Linked DNA regions of Homo sapiens: region 1 is linked to region 2. The links are contacts of gene promoters, found by promoter capture Hi-C in blood cells and fetal thymus (Javierre and others, 2016). All regions are on one chromosome and are shown on one strand. Each heading gives the region's core, a stretch centred on a gene start or on the middle of the fragment in contact. The rest is flanking DNA. Distances are from core to core; before and after follow the strand shown.

Region 1 (5,384 bases), core at 1,487-3,986, 370 kb after region 2:
TTAAGCCTGTTTTTCAGAGGAGGAAACCGAGGCACAGAGCACTAAGTACACGGCTCAAGGCAACACTACTACAAGTGGCAGGGCTGAGACCAGAGCCCAGACGGTGGGGTTCTAGAGTCCACCACACTCCTAACTACTACACATCACGGCCTCTTGGTTAGAAGTGAGCCCTGGAGACTAGAGGAAGAGATACACCATATTTAACTACCATGGGCAGCATTTTGGATACTCATAATAGACTTCCTGAAAGCGAGGAGAAGCTTCATGCCATAGGAGATTACTCAAGAGAAACAAAAACAAGGGGTAGAGGTTTTCCTCTCAAGGTTTCTCTAGCTCTGGGGCTCTGGGAGATGTGTTTATCTGTAGCTTTCACATAGTTCCAGACAAGCACCACCCAGCAATGTTTGAGGAAGCCCTGGGGAGGGAGCAGGAGTGGCTCTTACCAGTGGGTTCTTGTAATAGAGCAGCCTCCGCTCATGGCAATCCAGGGCGAACCACCTTTTCTTGAAAGGTTCTTTCTGCTGCAAAAGAGGGAACTTCTTACCACAGATGACCAGGTCAGTTTCTGAGGATAGAGGTCAGGGGCCAGCCCAGCCCAAACCAAAGGAGCTGGCCAGTCCCACTGGTTCTCCAGCCCAGCCTCCTCAGTCAGACATCCTAGTGCTTCTCCCTGGGGCCTGGATAGGAGCCCTCAGGCTCTGAAGGTTCTGCCCATTCCCCTTCCAACCCCACCATACCCTTTGCCAGCTTCACCCTGCTGCCTCAACTTGGAAGAGGCACCTTCCTCTTTTTCAGGCTGTAGACAAAGAAGCCGGAAAGGAAGTTGGAAAAAATCAGAAGTGGCTACTGCTTGGCAAGGCTGAAAGTGCTGGCCTTGGCCAAATTCTAACCTAGGTCAGGGAGAGAAAGCCCAGCAACAAGAACCAGGCGGAGGGGCTGCGCCTCTCTGAAAACAACCCTTTGACTGCTTTTTCCACCTGCCCAAGGCTTGCTTTCATGATTGCCTAACACAGGAATATCCAATCTCTTGCCTTCCCTGGGCCACATTGGAAGAATTGTCTTGGGCCACACATAAAATACACTAACACTAATGATAGCTGATGAGCCAAAAAAAAAAAATCGCAAAAATATCTCATAATGTTTTAAGAAAGTTCACGAATTTGGCTGGGCATGGTGGCTCATGCCTGTAATCCCAGCACTTTGGGAGGCTGAGGTGGGCAGATCGCTTGAGGTCAGGAGTTCGAGACCAGCCTGGCCAACATGGTGAAACCCCATCTCTACTAAAATTACAAAAATTAGCCGGGCATGGTGGTGGGCACCTGTAATCCCAGCTACTCAGGAGTCTGAGGCAGGAGAATCGCTTGAATCTGGGAGGCGGAGGTTGCAGTGAGCCGAGATCACACCACTGTACTCTGGCCTGGGTGACAGAGCAAGACTCTGTCTCAAAAAAATTTAAAAAAGAAAGTTTATGAATTTCTGTTGGGCATCATTCCAAGCCGTCCTGGGTTGCATGTGGCCCATGGGCTGTGGGTTGGACAAGCTTGGCCTAACACCTTTCACTGTCCTCTTAACAATCATCCCATAAACACATGAAACCTTCTATATACATTAAACCATATTAAGTTCCCCAGGGAGTGATAGAAGGTACCTTTGGCCCAGTCTTTTCCATGAAGCCTTGTTTGAGGTAGTTCCTGGTGAGGAATGGCACGAGCTGGGGAAGAGAGACAGACACTGACCCCCAACTCACACCCCAAGGCTCCAGGTTCCCGCCGAGCTTGGCTCCCGACAAAGGGGAAGTTTGAAATGGGGAAGGATGTACGCTCATGGCTCACAGTATTATATTTGGAAAGTGCAATGGTCATAATATTAATATTTCAACAAAGCCAGTCGACAGCACCCCAGATGTTTGCAGAGCTTAGTGGCACGGCCGAGTTTTGGTTTAAGGATTCCTTCAGTAACCCCAGGGTGTGGACATAGGCAAGGCTCTGCAGAGACCCTCTTGGTGTCAGGCAACATGTTCTGAGGGTCCACTTTGCATCAGGCTCCAGGTGCAATTCTCAATCACCCTGCGAGGTGGGTATCACCAGCCTCATTACACATCTGAAGAAACCAGGCCACAGAGAAGGGGCTGGGGATTTTCCCAAAGTCACATCACTGGTAGCACAAAGAGCTGAGATTCAGGCCCAGGGCCAATGACACTAGACTGTACTCCTACCACTACACTAGGTGCTAAAGTATAAATATGCCAGGGCCCTCTGAGCAGGACCTTGGGAAAGGCCTGGTCAGGATTCTGACACCAAGCAACAAGAAAATAATGGCCAGAGGCTGGGTGCAGTGGCTCACACCTGTAATCCCAGCACTTTGGGAGGTCAAGGCAGGCAGATCACTTGAGGCCAGGAGTTTGAGACTAGCCTGGCCAACATGGCGAAACCCCACCTTTACCAAAAATATAAAAATTAGCTGGGCATGGTGGCACGCGCTTGTAATCCCAGCTACTCAGGAGGCTGAGGCAAGAGAATCCCTTGAACTTGGGAGGCAGAGGTTGCAGTGAGCTGAGATAGTGCCACTGCACTCCAGTCTGGGTGACAGAGGGAGACTCCATCTCAAAACAAAACAAAACAAAAAAGAAAAGAAAATGATGCCAGAGTGGACAGAGAAAGTTCTGAAGCAGAAGTCGGGAGACCTGGTTCTAATTCCAGTTCTGGCCTCCATCAGCTGCATTACCTTTGTTAAGACCTTCTGTCTCTCGAGGCCTTATGTCTCCCCTGTGTGATAAACAGCCTGGATCATGTGATCCCCAGCATCCCTTCCAGCCTGGCAGCCTACGCCCAGAGATGTTTCCAGGGGTTGATGATGGCCTCCTATGCTCCTAGGCATCAACCTGGAAAGTCTAGAGCTTCAAATGACAGTCCAGGCTTCAAAGAACAGAGAGGCTTCTCCAGAGCTCCAGGGCCCAGGGCAGAGGCACAGGGGAAGTGAGGTCTGGGGAACAGCTATGGGAAGTTTAAAAGGGGGAAATTTGTGAGCCAAAAATGAAAATATTAGGCCAGGCGCAGTGGCTCACGCCTGTAATCCCAGCACTTTGGGAGGCCGAGGCGTGTGGATCACGAGGTCAGGAGATCGAGACCATCCTGGCTAACACGGTGAAACCCCGTCTCCACTAAAAATACAAAAAAGTAGCCGGGTGCAGTGGCGAGCGCCTGTAGTCCCAGCTACTCGGGAGGCTGAGGCAGGAGAATGGCGTGAACCTGGGAGGCGGAGCTTGCAGTGAGCCAAGATGGCGCCACTGCACTCTGGCCTGGGCGAAAGAGCGAGACTCTGTCTCAAAAAAAAAAAAAAAAAAAGAAAAGAAAAGAAAATATTGGTCAGATGCAGTGGCTCACACCTGTAATCCCAGCACTTTGGGAGGCCGAGGTAGGAGGATTGCTTGAGGCCAGAAGTTCGAGACCAGCCTGGGCAACATAAGTGAGACATCATCTCTATAAAAAATTAAAAAAAAATTTTTAATGTAAGAAACAAGATATAAACTGTACTACTCCCCTTCTCTTAAAATACATTCACTAGGCTTTAATTGTTCCATTTGGAGAAAACAGATGGAGTCCCGAACTGCTCAATATTCGGAATTTGAGCCAGCACAGAGCAAGCAGAGGCCTAGGGAAACCATTGGGAAAAAAAGGAAAGTCACATGGCTGGAGCACTGCTTCCTGTACTTCTGATGCCTTGGCTCGCTGGAGTCTCACAATAGCCCTAGAAAGTAGGTACTATCACCTAGGCAAGTCACCTCACCTCTCTGAGCCTCGATGCACTCATCTGTCACCATGGCGACAAAACCTACTTTCTCTGAAGTCCAAGAGACCATATGCATTTATTACAGGACCACAGACCCCACTGGGATGCCCTGGGTTTCCAACATGTGGACCCCTAAAGCTTGAGCCAGGCCTGGTGATTGCTCAGAACCTCACACCATACACAGACATTAAATGGGAGGAAAGACACGGGATGGATATCAGGTACCGACAGTGGATGAGAGAGGCAGGGGAACATTGAGGATGTTGACCAAAGAGCAATTTCCTTTACACATGTCAGCAAAGATGGGCAGCTTGCCCAGATTAAATAAGGCTGAGCATCTGCACTTTGTCCTCCCTCCTCATAGTCAGCAGTCAGCAGTCTCCACTCCCCGCCCATGGGAGCCAGCATTAACCAGTTCTGGGTGCAAACTCAGCAGACTGACTCAAGGGCTCTGACTCGGGCCTTGCTGGAATTGCTCCCAGAGAGCTGCCATCTCAGCACATCCCTGGGCCTGGAGGGGACCCTATTCCAGACAACTGGCTCCCTACAAACCTTGGAATTAAGGAGCATTTAGGCTTTCAAGGAAACTCTAATGGTTGAGATTAAGAAAATCCCAGCATTAAAATGGTTTTCCAGCCCCATCACTTATAAAATCCTCTTGGAGGGGAGCCTCTTGAAGAGGACCAGAGCATAGAATCTCAGAGGCGGAAGGGACCCTGAAGATGACCTGGACTAACCGCCATCTTACCCATATGGAAATAGAAGCTCAGAGGGGTGCCAGGACCTGCAGGGGTCACACAGCAAGTGAGCAATAGAGCATCCCTGAGAGCCCAGGCTTCCTGGCTCGAGACAGCATCCTCTGCCCTACACCATGCGGGTCTCCCTGGCCCAGCCTGAGATAGGGAGATGAAGGCCCCAGAAGTCTGGAGACAATCAAAATGAAGTTCTCGGCTCCCCATGATGTTGGCCATGAAGGGCATACCTGCTCCTGTTACAACTGTAATGGAGAGGATCCCAGGCTTTCCCAAGCCCAGAGCATCACAGGGCAAAGAGGGGATTTTAGAAAGGGAAGCACACCTTTGGTTATTCACCTGCCCTTCCTGGGACTGTATAACTCATCAGTGAAATGGAAATAATCACCCCTGCCTGGCTGCCATTTCACAAGACAAAATGGGCTCAAAGCACTCTGTAAGCAGTATGTTAGGGATCATTTGTACATTTTAGAGGGAGAAGGGTTCAGAAAGAGATGACCAATTGCTGAGCCCCTTGACACTCTTCTGAAGGGGAGACACTGACCAGCTTTTGGGAGGCCGCCTTGTCGTATGTGAGGCTGTAACCCCCGCAGGCTCCCCTGGAGAATGCCTTGGGCTTCCCTCTGAGCAGCCCAGCCCTCAACCTCGAGGTCTTGCCTGCAAACAAAACTAGTCTGGCTTCTTCTTCTTTTTTTTTTTTTTTTTTTTTGAGACGGAGTCTCACTCTGTCACCCAGGCTGGAGTGCAGCGGCGCCATCTGGGCTCACTGCAAGCTCCGCCTCCCGGGTTAACACCATTCTCCTGCCTCAGCCTCCCAAGTAGCTGGGACTACAGGCGCCTGCC
Region 2 (5,283 bases), core at 1,406-3,905:
TGGCCAACAGGGTGAAACCCTGTCTCTACTAAAAATACAAAAATTAGCTGGGCGTGGTGGCACGTGCCTGTAGCCCCAGCTACTTGGGAGGCTGAGGCAGGAGAATTGCTTGAACCTGGGAGGGGAGTTTGCAGTGAGCTGAGATTGTGCCACTGCACTCCAGCCTGGGCGATAGAGCGAGATTCCAACAAAAACAAAAACAAAAAAAACCAAAAAAATCACACATACTCCATTAATATGTACAAATTATCATGTATCAATAAAAAACTTCACCTCAGAATTTTTAATCTTGTTGGGAGAAAATAAGATAAAAATATGACAAGTCAAATGATTTTAAAACAACACAAATATTTCAAGATAGAAGATATGAGGTAGAAAGTAATCACTTATCAAAGGAAATGCAGAGAAAATACTGTTATTAAGACAAAGGAGAGAGAGAGAGAGATTAACACAAACTGGGCAGTCAGTGAAAGCTACATAGAAGATACAGTGGCTGAATCAGGTAAGGAGGAATGCAGACTCAGCAAGAGGACTGGGCAGGCCTTATGGAGAAAGGCAAAAAGGAAAAGAAACAGGTAACTAGATGTGTTGAAGAGACAGCTAGTCTAGCCAGAATGGAGGATTCAGGTAGAGAAGTTTTGAGAGATAAAGCTGGGAAAATACAGAATAGTCAAATTGTGGAGAGACCATAACTGCCCAACCAAAGGGCTTAGGTTTTCTACTAGGGGCTCACCATTTCTCAGCATATGTTCTGTGGACTACTGGCGTCAGAATCAACTGTGGTGCTTGATAAAAATGCAGTTTCCTGGTCCCAACCTGGACCTACTAAATATGGATCTATGTAGTGGGGCCTGGAAATTTTTATCTTTTTTTTTTTTCCCTTAACTCAGGCTGGACTGCAGTGGCACGGTCACAGCTCACTGTAGCCTTGACCTCCCCAGGCTCAGGTGATCCTCCCACCTCAGCCTCCTGAGTAGCTGGGACTACAGATAAGCGCCACCATGCCCGGCTAGTTTTTTGTTTTTGTTTTTTTGTATTTTTTGTAGAGACAGGATTTTGCCATGCTGCCCAGGCTGGTCTCGAATTTCTGTGGCTCAAGTAATCCTCCCGCCTCAGCCTCCCAAAGTGCTGAGATTACAGGTGTGAGCCACCATGTCCTGCTTTTATAATTTTTAAACAATCTTCTCATCTGATGTTTATGTACACAAACATTTCTGAATCATTGTTGTATGTATTAGGGAACTGTTCAACCGGTTTTATTTTCCCTTAAAGAAAGGGTGGTATGACCAAAGACAGTGATGTATACAAGATATAAGAAGGATTCAGGGCTACCGAAAAGGCACTGTAGAGTCTAGGTATGACCTGATAAGGATCTAAAATAGTACTGTTGACAGTAAAAACAGGGAAAAAGAAACTGATCCAACAATATGAAGGAAGGACCAACATGATTCAAAGTCTGATCAGGACTGAGAGGACTTAAATTAAAATGATGTGTTGTATACTAAGCCTCTGATATTAGAATGTTGCTATCATGAACAGAAACAAGAAGACTGTCACAGGCAGCCTCCTTTAAAGAAAAAATAAAGTTCTTTTTATTTCATTAATTTAATTAATTTTTAAGAGATGGAGTCTTGCTATGTTACCCAGGCTGGATTTGAACTCCTGGGCTCCACCAGTGATCCTCCTACCTCAACCTACCTAGTAGCTGGGATTACAGATATGTGCTGCCATATCCAGTTCTTTTTTTTTTTTTTTTTTTTTTTTTTTTTTTTTTTGAGACAGAGTCTTACTCTGTCTTCCTGGCTGGAGTGCAGTGGCATGATCTTAGCTCATGCAGCCAAGATCTCATGATCTCTGCAGCCTCCACGTCCCGGGTTCAAGCTATTCTCCTGTCTCAGCCTCCCAAGTAGGTGGGACTACAGGTGCATGCTACCCTGCCTGGTTAATTTTTATATTTTTAGTAGAGACAGGTTTTCTCTATGTTGGCCAGGCTGGTCTTGAACTCCTGGCCTCAAGTGATCTGCCTGCGTCAACCCTCCCAACGTGCTGGGATTACAGGTGTGAGCCACCGTGTTCAGCCCATACCTAGTTCTTAAAGTCTGTTTCAGTCATGTTAAACTTGAGGTGATGACAGGATGTTTGACAGTTGTGTGTGTGTGTGTGTGTGTGTGTGTGTGTGTGTATACACACACTACACCACACGAAAGCATTTTCTGTCCCATATAATCTAAGTTTACTAGATATTTTCTCAAATAATTGCTGCAGTTCCACAATTGTTACATTATCTGATCAGTATCCCATGGACTCCAAACTCACATTTTCAAATCAGTCTGTAGATTTCAAATAAGTCTTTTAGAGAAGATTTGAAATGGAAGATACCATTTCAAAACCTCTTTTGAATGACACTAAAGCATGTAGCAGGCCTATAGAATGAGCATACTGTCAAAAGGCATTAAGTGGAAAACCCTCCCTGCTCTGGAGGCGGGGATTGGTTCTACAAAGCCTCCTGTCATGCCAGTGGCCAACTAGAGAAGTTGGAGCTTTTTCGTTGTTTTTTTTTTTTTCCCTCCTGTGACATGTGCTTTAGTTGCAGTGGAAAGGAAATGTGTCATCTGTGGTTTGGTTTTAAAAGTGGAAAACTAGCTGCACATATCCTTTTTTACTGCAGATTTACTTTAAGGCTCATATTCTCCAAGTCTATTCTGCTTTAAAAAGAAGACAAGAAAAGAAGTGGTTTATCAAAATCACGTTATAATCAGATTTTGACCAAGCATTTTGTAAGGTAGGTCATATATATACGGCTTTTCTTATGCCTTTTCACTTCTAACGTCTGACAGATTAGTGTTCGAGGAAATGCTATCAAAGTGTGTAAGAATCTCACTAACAAACTAGAATTGTGACTGAAAATGTATACTTTTTTTTTCTGTCCTGTTACATAAATTTTAAGTTAGAAATGAAAAAATTTGCCATCGCCATGGAGTTTTAAATTAGGATTACGAAGGATCTAAGTTTGGTTTCCTCAAGTAAACTGGAAATGTTTTGTTATTTTTCAAAAGTTAAAAAATAAATTTCTCATTACTAATGCTTGGACATTACAAATTCTACTGAAAATAAATTCTACTGAAAATGATCAGATATAAGAAAACTTCTGATAACACAACCTGGCCTCCAAGGCATAAACTGGAGTAAAAACAGTCCTCAATTCTCAGGCATTTGTAAGGGCAAGAGAAAGTCTCATTTTGTCATACAGTTTGTTTATTTGGGCACTGCAGTACATCTGGCTGAAGACAATCAACAGCAGGCCTATTATCTGTTCCGTGGTAAGCACTGTTAAAATGTGTACCAATACTATGATGTATACTACACTGTTAATGAACTAATGTGAAAAGAATAATCTACTTTAAATCATTCTAGCATCTAATACAGAAGTCCAGTCTAGTATAAAAAGATGGAAATTACTTGCTAATCCAATTTCAAGTATTTCTTTTTGTGGAAGAATCATGAAATATCCAAAGATTTATGTCACTAAACTTAAAAATTAAAGCTGAACACTATTATACAAAAGCCAGTGACTTGGGCCTTTAATTGTCTACTAAAGGTCATAATCTAAAAAGTAATCTTAATCCTGGAATATTTAATAGTTTTTCCTCCCTACTATTAATATGAAATATAGTCTCCAGTTAGCATTGTTTATTACATGCTACTTTTGTTTGCATAACTCAACGTATCACATTTCTTATTTTCAATTTCTGTATTTTAATAGTATACAAATGTCAGCCAATGACATATAACAACCATTTCTTATAAAACCTTGATGTTCAAAAGCCTGACTAGCAGTGGCATCCATGTTGCTTAGGAGTTGGTTTGGAAACAAAGACTTTCAGGCCCTACCTATACTAGCTAGGTAAGAATCTGCCTTTTTTTTTTTTTTTTAAATAAAAGGACTCCTAAGTACATTTGAGAAGAATTTCTATAGCATACGTAGGGTTCTTAACCAGGCAATTTCATTTAGTAAATCTCAGGAGAACAATATAGTTTTGCTTTTAGTTCATTCAAATAAATGCTAACAATAAAATACTCCTTTCAAAAGTAGCTCAAGACAAACTGGTATATTATTATAAGATACCTTAATAATGATTATAAATCTTTCCTGCTGGGTTAGCAGTACATGGAACTGTTAAATTCTAAGATATGCCATTTCTATTTAAATCAATCATTTGGTAGATTTAAAAAATGTATAATATAACTTGTCTCCTTTTTGTACTAGTTTCCAGCAAGCTCAGGGCCAAAGCGGAAATTCAACATTTTCAATTATCTGTTGAGATGCTTATAACCTGCCACTTCATCCCAAATCATCAAGATCCTGATGCTCTATTTCTATTTTATTACACATTTTTTTTTACAATTATGTCAAAATCAGAAAAAATGCTAGGTATAAATGATGCTTTAAAAGAAAACCCAGCAACTTTTGTTGAACTTTTAAGTCTACTCAGAGGAAATTTGCTGTTTTTTTTTTTTTTTCTTCAGATTTTTAGGTTGAGAAAACTGGTATGCCTTTGCCTTCAGAAAGACACAGTCAGTCCAGGGAAATATAAATGAAAAGAGACAACCACCACAGTAAAATTGCGTTCACAAATACACTTACAAATGTATTTCTAAGTACCAGCTTTATTCTAAGCTTCAAGATGAACACCCAAGAAAAAAAAAGAACACCTTGAATTTCTATTTGAAGTTCAGTTTCTTTTGGTTGCTACCAAACTTCCCCTCTTTCCACCAAAAAAATTTGCATTTATTTCATACATGAAGCAAGAAGCTCAAGGCCACATTTCTTCTGTAAAGATTGGTGACAGGTTAGAGGGTGGGTAGTTTCTGTAAGAATGATCCTTAATTTTTTTTTTTTTTTAAAGAAGGAATCAGAAAAGTAAAAGCAGAACTAACTGACTCAAAGCAGAAGTCTAGCACGCTTCAAAGGAAGAAAACTATATAAAGCCATGATAGTCCACTTAAAATGATTAATATTTATTTGTAATGCTAACTTCTAGCATCTAAAAGTGTTAATAGAAATTAAAATGCTTCTTCATACATAGCTGAATAGAAAAGAAATTTAGTTGAGAAGGAATTCAGGGTAGCGAATATTAGGCATAAGCTTGTAGTTTACTTGTAACATCTCAACACTATCTTTTAACTACAATTACCAAAACTAGGATCCATTATTCTTTCACAAACTAACAAATTATATTGCTATCCCAACAGATTGCCAAGCATGCCCACGGACATGGAACA

Evidence for each region. Contacts are between HindIII fragments. The CHiCAGO score rates a contact against its expected background, and 5 or more counts as called.
Region 1: a fragment that was not itself captured here is called in contact with the fragment with the promoter of EVI2A in region 2 in 1 of 17 cell types (M0 macrophages); the score reaches 5.2 in M0 macrophages.

The regions. Positions count from the first base shown.
Region 1 is chr17:30,949,615-30,954,998 of GRCh38, reverse strand. ADAP2 (ArfGAP with dual PH domains 2) reads right to left here. Exons shown (of 11, transcript NM_018404.3): 8 at 1,649-1,711; 9 at 444-521. Among named protein-coding and RNA genes, the nearest start is that of RNF135, 19 kb to the left of the region's middle. The HindIII fragment of the contact is 2,387 bases long and covers 1,543-3,929 here.
Region 2 is chr17:31,318,994-31,324,276 of GRCh38, reverse strand. It overlaps EVI2A (ecotropic viral integration site 2A), which reads left to right and starts at 2,655. Exons shown (of 2, transcript NM_014210.4): 1 at 2,655-2,782; 2 at 5,254-5,283. The coding sequence starts at 5,264. The region is part of intron 36 of NF1 (neurofibromin 1); the gene reads right to left. The HindIII fragment of the contact is 8,918 bases long and covers 1-4,680 here.